3 separate regions of the Homo sapiens genome follow, and all the other regions are linked to region 2. The links are contacts of gene promoters, found by promoter capture Hi-C in human tissues and cell types (Jung and others, 2019). All regions are on one chromosome and are shown on one strand. Each heading gives the region's core, a stretch centred on a gene start or on the middle of the fragment in contact. The rest is flanking DNA. Distances are from core to core; before and after follow the strand shown. Region 1 has its middle 400 kb from the start of FIGN. Region 2 holds the start of FIGN (fidgetin, microtubule severing factor). Region 3 has its middle 370 kb from the start of FIGN.

Region 1 (3,357 bases), core at 183-2,682, 400 kb before region 2:
GAATAGTCTCACAGTGAGGCAAGAGATTCCAGTTCAGCTCAGATTCTGCCCCTAACAAGAGATATTATTTTTAAGGCAACTTATTCCAGCTCTGTGTGCCTCAGTTTCATCTGCAGAAAAACATAGAGATATTTACTTGCTCTAATAAATTATTGTGAGGTTGAAATGAGGTAAAGGGCATATATAACTTTTGAGAAAAGTTAAGAGATACAGTAATAAGAAGAACAATGAATTCAAATTGGCTATCAAATTGCCTCACTTTCAAGATCGTGGCTAACCTATCCCTGTTCAGAAAAGACATAGGCTGAGAAAATCAGTAAAGGACTGAATTACTGTGGTGGTCAATTATAATTGTGTAGCCATATGGCACATATAAAATACACTTCTTTTGGTATAAAGTGGCTTTCCAGGAAGCCTTCCTTACCCTGCTCCCTCTTATTGCTGGGCTTTAAATTTTTTTTTTTTTTTTTTGACAACATCCTTCTTACTTTTTGGTTAGTGGGTCACAAGCTTAGAATGAATTCGGAAGTTAAAACATATTTCAGCAATTAGCACCCTAAAAACTCAAGCTGCTTTTTGGCAATATTCTAAAAAGATGATTTCAGCACCTTTCATCCCCAGCTTGTTTGATAATTCACATTCCCATGTCCTTGGACTTGGCAGGCTCCGCAGTGCTAGAGACGCATTCTTAGTTTGCTGAGGAAAATGTGAGCAACTTGAAGATGCTAAATAGGGACATTAGCCACATCTGAACTAGATATACTGAGTTAGTGGGGTTTTGTTCCTGGCTTGTTCTCTCTATTTTTAAATGTGATTGTACTCAGTGCTATTCTGAACATTTTAGTTAACTCCCTGGCGTCCACCTACCTATCTTATTATTAGCTACCCTCTCTAGAAATATTTTTAAAGAAGTTTAAAAAGAGATGAAACAAAATGTCTTCCAAATAGCTTCTACCTCTGGCTTCAGAGGAATGAGCAGACTCTTAGCTGCTTTTATACTTCATTTCTCAGAGGCAGGGACAAGTGACAGCCAAAAAGAGACTAGGAAATTTGGTCCAGCATAGAAAACCCTCTATATTTTAAGTCACTTTAAGTATTCAGACACAAGGTGAGAATTATTCATTCAGAAAAAAATTAATGTTTAGTCCCTGTCTAGGTAAAAGAAGAATGGCATTATGCACATTAACTAATAAGCATAATTATAATTAGGTTTTGTTGAAGGGTAAACACCATTTCTTCTCCACTTCCTCAATCCACAAATGTTTCCATACTAGTCAAATATATGTCATGTTTTTTCTCTACACTGGGTCATTATGAAAAGTTACAAAAGTGGTCAAAAGCCTAGAGTAGGCCTAAGGGAAACTTGCATGACCATGGGAAATAATTTCATCTATTTGGACTACTCAAGTCCTTTTTCTTCCTTTCTTCTCTTTGACTGCCCACACTGATAACTGATGTTGCAAAGATTTCTAACTCTAAAATTGCATGATCCAAAGATGCTAAAGAAAATTAAAGTGGGAATCTTTGGGCTATAAGTCCATTTTTTGTAACTATTCAATACAGACTGTTAGGAAGAATAAAATGTACAATTGGGGGGGAAGGTGATGAAAACTTCAAAATCAGGAGGTAAAAGTTCTGGTTCTAACTCTGGTTGCTCTTTTTATTACTGAAAAATGAGTCTCTCAATTAGGAATATGTAACACTTCTAGCTTTAAAACTGTTTAATTGCTATATACACTACTAGATCTCATGCCTAGGTTGTCTGAATCATAGTCTTAGAAAGTGGAGCTCAGTTGCATAATCTTAAAATGTTCCATAAAGGATTCTGATGCATGCCCCTCATTGACAAACACAAGATCAGCCGATCAAGCTTCCTTCCCACCTTGACATTCTTAGAGTTTAGGGCTCTGTCTCTATCAGGACTCTAGCAAGTTGTGGCAAGGAAGTACAGAATAACATCACGTTTTACATGATGTTGAGGATATTTGAGGGCAATTTAGGTGATGTAAAGAACACTGGGAGGTGTTTATAAAATGTTTCCAAGCAGATAAAGCTTTTGACAAAGAGCTGCTAATTTTATAATTGGAAGACAATCCCAACTATAGGAAGATGAAAACACATAACTAAGAATGACTTTTTTCTATTCTCTATCTGTCTCAGATTCATTTAATCAAAGAATCTTTTTAGGAGTGCTCAGGGGCATTCTTATTTCTCAAATTTCTTCTTAGTTTCTCTCCTCTATTAGTCCAGGGACCAGCTATAGTATTATTAATTTGTATCACACTCCTCCTCCTTTAGTATAATTCAGCCTCTCTAGCTTTCTGTTTCCCCGGAATACCAAGTTCATTACAGCTTCGGGATCTGGAATGCTCTCCCAAAGACTAGCTCCTTCTTACCATTCCATTGTCTGCCTGCCTTTCTCCTTCTCAAAGAAGCCTTTCCTCACTTTCCAGTCCAAAACTCTTCCATTTCCGTTACTCTCTGTCACATTAGGTCTCTGTCATATCTGGCCTTCATAGCACTTAGCAACATTTGAAATAATCTAGTTTATTTATTGCTTACTCATTTATTGTCTTATAGAACATGCTTATAATTTCCCTAATGCAATAATCTTTTCTATGTTGCTTATCACCTGTCTGGCACAGAGTAGGTACATAGTAAATATTTGTTAGACTAAGAATTGAAACTTTGCTGTTCTCCACAATGTTTTCTCAAACAATAAGCATCCTCAAGAGTATGAATAGCCACTATAAAGAGTAATTTTAGCATTTTCGTGTTTTACCTTCTTGGAGCTTATGTGCTTAATAAACATCATTAAGAATACAAACTTAAGGCTTTACAGAAATAGGCAAAATATAATATATATCATGGGATATAATAATACCGTATTACATGTACAATACAATAAAATGAAAGCATAAAATATAAATATTTACAATAAGTGTAGTTGTACTTCTATTAGTCGTTTATTACTCTTTCACTGCATCATTTAATAGAGAGCTTCTTGCTATCTCAGAAACAACACAAAACAAGATTCTAAATATTATTTATATTTACAATAAGTGTAGTTGTACTCCTATTAGTCGTTTATTACTCTTTCACTGCATCATTTAATAGAGAGCTTCTTGCTATCTCAGAAACAACACAAAACAAGATTCTAAATATTATTTATATTTACAGTAAGTGTAGTTGTACTCCTATTAGTCGTTTATTACTCTTTCACTGCATCATTTAATAGAGAGCTTCTTGCTATCTCAGAAACAACACAAAACAAGATTCTAAATATTATTTATATTCCTTTTTGATGCAAGTGACTGAAAGCCAAAGAAAATTCACCTATGCAAAAGGGACACATAT
Region 2 (3,325 bases), core at 283-2,782:
ATTTAATGAAAACGAAGAGAAATTATGACCCAATTCACTCTCTTTCTCATTACAATTCCTAAAGAACTTTGCCGGGCACATTATCTCGTAGACATCATGATCAAATGTTATTGTTTGCTTTATTATCTCAGTTGGATGGTTGGCTAGTCTAGAATGAAATAGGTTGAAGGCAATACTCTCAGCCTAGAAGTCTGAATGAGGTTCCCATTCAAATGATCCTGATTGTTTGCGGGTGGGGCGGGGTGATTAGTAAACCAACTGAGCTTACACTGCATAGTAAGCGTCTGGATGCCGCACATTTACATCTAACAAGAGACCCCAGAAAACGTGTGTGTGTTTCTTAAACCTTATGTTCCGAACAAAAGGCTATCTCAGCAACAGACAATCAGCACTGCATTGCTCCCTGGGATGCGAGCAACACACTCAACTGCACATTTCATTCTTCCTCGGCTCCCAGCACCACAAAGCCCCTACTCTCTTCCCACTCCTGGGTCCCCAGATTACTCCATAGAGGGGGGTTGGGAAGGCAGAAGCCTAACGTCTATGCCTGCGCACCAGCCGCCGACACCAGGGCCCCCCGGGCGCTGCTTTCTCCAGCCCGAGCCGCCTGGGGGAGGTAGGGAGGGGAGCCAGGGAGCGCGAGAGGGGACCGCACACCTAGACACTTAGGATTTTATTTATTCACAGGGAGGCGGGGGAGGGGAACTGGGCGAACGCGAATTTTCTCCCCGAAGTTGCCTCTTCTAAGCAGATCAAGTCGTTTTCTGGCTGGTGCTGGGGGCCCCGGGGAGGGTGCCGGTGAGGTCCAGGCTCTCGAGACCAGATCCCGTCCCGTGCGCAGAGGGGGTGGGGAAGGGCGGACGGGCCGCAGCTGTCGAGAGGGCCGGGAACCGGCAGGGAAGAGCCCGCGGGCCGGGGAGCAGCGCGGCTCTGTCCCGGGCCCTCCAACGCAGGCCGGGGAGCGCAGGGGCCGGCTGGTCACGCGTGGGAAAGAAAGCCCCCTTCCCCCTACGGCGCTGCTCCCCTTTCCCCAGGCTGGGCCGCCAGAGAGTGCGTGCAGGGAGAGCTGCGAGTCCCCGCGCGCGTAATCATGACCTCGGGGCCCCCTCCGGGCCGCGTGAGCGCATCGGCGAGGCTGGGCGGCCGCCGCGGCCCCGGCCGTGTAACATGACCCGAGCGGCCGGCCGGCCGGCGCGGCGCGGCCATTGAGCCCTCCCTGCCCATGAATCTCTGGCGCGTCTCTAGCTCGCTCGCCGGCTCGCCTCCCGCCTCCCTTTCTCCCCCTCCAGCTCCGCGGGCTCCGTGCGCCTCTCCCTCTCCCTCCTGGTCCTCCCGCTGCCCGTCTCTCTCCACTGCCCGCCTCTCGCCACTGCCTCCCGTCTTCTCTCCCTCACGGCAGCCTCCGTCTCTTTCTCCCTCTCTCCTTTGAAAACTGATCTTTGGCTCTTAGTGTGAAAGTGATTTGAATTTGGCTCTGCGGCGCTCTGCGCCTGCGCCCAGCCTCTGGCATGCTGGCTCCTTCCAAGCAGCTGTTTTGGGTTTGAAATTCCAACATGGCAGAGGCTGCAGTCCGTCTTCCCTTCAAAAACTTGGAATGATTTCAAATCATAGGCACCTTCACTTAACCCTAGCTTCCATTCATCAGCAAACACATCGGATCGATGCTACGCTAACCTATCGGGTTCTCTCTCCGCGCGTTCAGGTAAGAGGAGCTTCGTAGTTTTCTACCATCTGTTTAAATTTGTTTTTGTTTTATTTTTAAAGAATATAAATACATCCAAGACCTGTAATTAAAAGAGATCTTCAGTTGTGCCGTAAACATTAAATTCAATTTCCACTCGTTTCTATTCTGTACGCCAACCTGCTGTCTAATTTCTCTGTTCAAAGTAGCCCTGAAACATTATAATGCATATTTTTGCTGCTTAATCATTGTAACAATAGTATGGGATTAAGAGTTCGCGATTGCAAGAATCTCGCTTTTCGCTATATTGGGCTTACTTATTACTATCTTTTTACTTCAAAAATAAAAAAATAAGAAAGCGGAGCCATAGGGTGGGGCTAGACTTTCTTCGGGAACTAACTTCTAAGTAAATAAGAAGTGTAAATAAGAATCTTGCACACACACAAAAAGTTGAGGTTAAATTACAATCTCGTGGCTGGGGGAACGAGAAAATGTCAGAAGATCGGTTGCAGAAAAATGTAAGCACATCATCTAGGAGGGGGTACAGCGTGGTGGGCGTATTGTTGGCAAGGAACGGGAGAGAAAGATGTATAATTTAATGGTATATACAATCCACTGATCCTATTACCGTCCTCCCCGGAGCTCTTGTTAGTTTCAATGGGAGTGAGTGAAATTGACATGGACTTGCATTCCTGGTCATGTGCTTTTTTTCCTTTCTTTCTTCTCCTGTGATCTGAGATCCCCTTTTTGTTGATGTTGCTTTCCCCCTTAATTATATGCATGTAGGTTAAATGAATACCTGACGAAAGGGCCCACGTTTCAAGGCAGTGACATTTGATAGCTGAGAGGAAAAGTGGCTTTAATGAAAAGCAACCTTTGGAATTCCTGCTTGTGAGAAATCCAATTCAGCTTTTTGTGCTGCCAGCAAGAAATGATCAGTAGCACCAGTGTTTATGGTATGTCAGTTTTGGAATTTACTTCCTTTGCATCTAAATAGGAAAGACAAATGAAATAGCATGATAAAACCATTGAAGACTGCCTGGCAAGCAGTTGCTCATGATATAGAATTCCTTTTTTTAAAAAATATATGTTTAATGTCACCATGCTTTTTTTTCTTTTGCTATCACTTGTTTGTATATTGCAGTTTTGATTAATATATTACTTGAATCCACTTTTATCGGTTTTAGCTGTCATCCAGAAGTTGCACGTTACTAGTAATGCACTATATATATATAACTGCTGAAGTCAAATAGTATGTAAATTAGTTAAACTCAGTGTGGGTTTTTTTTTTTTTTTTTTTTGAAGGAGGGAGGCTGGGCAAAGGGGAGAGGGCAGGAGTGTTGGGAAAGATTACTAACTAATGAAAGTGTATCTATATATATGTACACACACAGGAACAGGACTGGATGAAAATTTTATTTTTCTCAATCTATTAATGCAGTTTGACTATCTGCTCTTGATGTTTGCACTTTGTGGAGTAATCAGTTCTTCTGAGTGTGGTTTTTTTTTGGGGGGGGCGGGTAAGTGAAGAGGTGTCTTTTACATGAAAATAAAAATTATATTTTGATTGTCCAAAGTCCTTGATGTCTTTTAAAGAGTAGGGATAGGTTTTTCTTCCCCCTTTCCATTCACTCGTCTGCCTGT
Region 3 (3,357 bases), core at 604-3,103, 370 kb after region 2:
ACTGTAATACAGTTTGTAGCCTGTAGCATAGAAAGACAGAGATGTAAGTGTGATATGGTATATGGGCCCAGAGACAAAAAGAACACTTATAAAAATTGAAGCGACAAGCTTACATAGATAACTTATTTATTTAAGGCTTTCACACTGGGTAGCTACACTGTGATAAGGGTTGAGCAATTTGGCTTAACTCTAAAGGAATATCTAAACTTTAACTCTCTCAAGTCAAGAGTTTTCTTATTTTTTTTTGTCACTTTTCAAAGTTCAAAAAGCCTGGTAATTTATTTGATGCTGCACATTTCATGAAGCTATACATGCATGGCCTGGGATTAGGATAGGTGGCAGTTAGAAATACTGCAATACTGTAAAAAGTGCCATTCTTGCAAAATTTTCAACCTAATTTAAACCTATCCATTCTTGATACCTTATGAGAAATATGTAGTATCATGGGGCTTACAGCCCAATTTTCTGACCAAACAAGTTCAGATATTTTCTAAAAAGCTTCTGATAAGCAACTTCAAAGTTGTGCCCAAACCTCTGACTCTAGAGGTCCTTCCAACCACAATAAACTCTTGGAAATGTCTTAATCTTTGGTTAACCAGCCTTTGATTATCTCTGTGTAGATCGGGGTGTCCAATCTTTTGGCTTCCCTGGGCCACAGTGGAAGAAGAAGAATTGTGTTGGACCACACATAAAATACATGAACATTAACCATAGCAGATGAGCTAAAAAAATTGCAAAAATACCTCATAATGTTTTAAGAAAGTTTATACATTTGTGTTGGGCTACATTCAAAGCCGTTCTAGGCCGCATGCAGCCCTCAGGCCGTGGGTTGAACAAGCTTGGTGTAAATGGTTAATGCCACTCAGCAGGCTTCTGAGCTACCTTCCTCCATGATGACTGGGTGGTATAAGCTCAGAGAATTGCTAGTTTTATTTTTATTACTAATATAGATTTATGTTTTTTACTAGTTTAAGCACAATTAGGGGTAAATTTGTTATAAAAATCACATAGTAAATTCCAATGGCAAATGTAAATGATGCTCACAGTTTGCAACATTTTTCATTATTTGTAATACTGCCTCTATTTACACAGAATTCAATTCAACAAACATTTATTTAACGCATACTGTTTATGTCAAATCCTATGCCAAGAGTGGACTCTGTACATTTCAGCACCTTATTTATTTAGACTAGAAATGCCAACTTATTTCCCCATGGTCAAATAAAAAAGTACAGAGGCATTTGTTGTTTTGGCTGTGCTGCTTAGTTCTGGTCTCTATAAATGGGACAGGAAGGCATAATCAAATGCATGGGAACCCAATGGTAATGATAGAAGTGTTGGCAAATAATTCACCTCTACCTCCTTCCAGAGAGGAGGACAAGTGAGCTATGTGTGCCTAGTCAGGTGTTTCTATCTGAGAGTTTGAATCTTGTGAGCAGGTGACAAAGGCAATCAGTCTGATCAGGGTTATTTTTATAGAAAATCTGGTGGACTTAAGGATTTAGCAGTGTTATCCTCTGTAGTTTTTAGGTGTCCTTAGGTGACATTCTAAACAGAAATAGAAGATTTGGGCTGTGCCTTTCCTGTCTTGGATTCTTGCCAGGCCTTGTGTCCCAGTCTTTCTGGATATTATTTGTGTTTACAGCCTTCCAATAAATTCCTTGTCTGTTTAAGATAATGAGAGAAAGTTTCTGTTGTTTTCAACTAAAATAGTAAAGAAATGACCAATAGTAAAGGAATATGATGGCATGATGATATGACTTGCTTTATATCTGAGATTGGTATTATAAAGTTATAAATATCAATTTAAATTGTCTGTAATCATTATTCAATAAATATTAAAACTGCAACTAGATAAAATTAAAATAAAATACAACTCAATAGCACATTTTTTCTTCTAAAATTATCTTTATGAAATGTAATTGAGGCCAGGTGTGGTGGCTCATGACTGTAATTCCAGCACTTTGGGAGGCCAAGGCAGATAGATCACGTGAGGCCAGGAGTTCGAGACCAGCCTGGCCAACATGGCGAAACTCTGTCTTTACTAAAAATACAAAAATTAGCCAAGTATGGCGGCCCACATCTGTAATCTCAGCTGTTTGGGAGGCTGAGGCAGGAGAATCACTTGGACCTGGGAGGTGGAGGTTGCAATGAGCCAAGATCGCGCCACTGCACTCCAGTCTGGGTGACAGAGCGAGACAAATGTTTGAACAAATGTTTCCAGTTTATCTAAAAAACAGCTGTGGGCCGGGCGTGGTGGCTCACGCCTGTAATCCCACACTTTGGGAGGCTGAGGCGGGTGGATCACGAGGTCAGGAGATTGAGACCATCCTGGCTAACACGGTGAAACCCCGTCTCCACTAAAAATACAAATAAAAGTTAGCCGGGCGTGGTGGCCGGCGCCTGTAGTCCCAGCTACTCGGGAGGCTGAGGCAGGAGAATGGCGTGAACCCGGGAGGCGGAGCTTGCAGTGAGCCGAGATCACGCCACTGCACTCCAGCCTGGGTGACAGAGCGAGACTCTGTCTCAACAACAACAACAACAAAAAACCAAAACAGCTGTGATGTTTGTTTCAAGGCTAGCATGTAAGGAGTATAGAAATTATCACTCCATCCTAACAACAAGTAAAAAAACTGAACAAATGGAATAACAGCTCTTGGTCCATCAAGGAGGTGAAGTCACAAGGCAAACTGCTCCCCCCAAAATTGGAGACAGACAGGCAGATACAGATAATCACAACTACTAGGGCAGAAGCCCCCTAGCAGAAACCTCCTTAAGAACTAGTTTTGGGGGTAAGAGAACATGAACTGTCCTTGATGAATGGCCAGAGGTGAAGACTAGACACTCCTGAGATTTAAAAAAATCCAGGGGACCCCAGTCATAGAAGAGGCCCTACACTTAAGTGAGTTTACCTCCAGGAACTTAACCAGGTTCTCACAGTAAATATTGGAGAAAAATTTCCTCATGCTTCAGACAAGAAAAGAGAGAAGGAATCATTTTGAAATATGACAGGACATTCTGTTCTTCTTAACAAGGACTTCCCTCAAGAGAAACTATTTTTTCAGAGCCAAACTATTGGGATTTTGTCAGAGTCTAAATGACTAGGAAAAAGGGAAAGACCCAATTCCTACCCACTGTAGTTATCCTGCCCCATCTAAGTTGGGGCTGACTCAGAAGTACCTGTGAAGTTCACAGTTCAGGGGCACAGGCCCACTAAAAGACTGAGACATAATCATAGAACTATAGAACACCCCCCCTCTCTCCATACCTTACCACCACATCACTAAATGCCTATGTACCACAGTCCCTTTCACCCAGTACAAGAAGTCTGGCTGTAAAAAAAAAAAAAAAAAAAAA

Evidence for each region. Contacts are between HindIII fragments. The study calls those that stand out against the background at their distance.
Region 1: a fragment that was not itself captured here is called in contact with the fragment with the promoter of FIGN in region 2 in 3 of the 25 tissues and cell types used here (aorta, heart left ventricle and mesenchymal stem cells).
Region 3: a fragment that was not itself captured here is called in contact with the fragment with the promoter of FIGN in region 2 in 1 of the 25 tissues and cell types used here (dorsolateral prefrontal cortex).

Annotation. Positions count from the first base shown.
Region 1 is chr2:164,131,879-164,135,235 of GRCh38, reverse strand. No RefSeq gene overlaps it. Among named protein-coding and RNA genes, the nearest start is that of FIGN, 400 kb to the right of the region's middle. The HindIII fragment of the contact is 3,855 bases long and covers 1-3,357 here.
Region 2 is chr2:163,734,215-163,737,539 of GRCh38, reverse strand. It overlaps FIGN (fidgetin, microtubule severing factor), which reads left to right and starts at 1,532. Exons shown (of 3, transcript NM_018086.4): 1 at 1,532-1,702; 2 at 2,468-2,637. The coding sequence starts at 2,613. RefSeq lists enhancers at 1-408, 409-925. The HindIII fragment of the contact is 21,926 bases long and covers 1-3,325 here.
Region 3 is chr2:163,365,874-163,369,230 of GRCh38, reverse strand. No RefSeq gene overlaps it. Among named protein-coding and RNA genes, the nearest start is that of FIGN, 370 kb to the left of the region's middle. The HindIII fragment of the contact is 3,099 bases long and covers 304-3,357 here.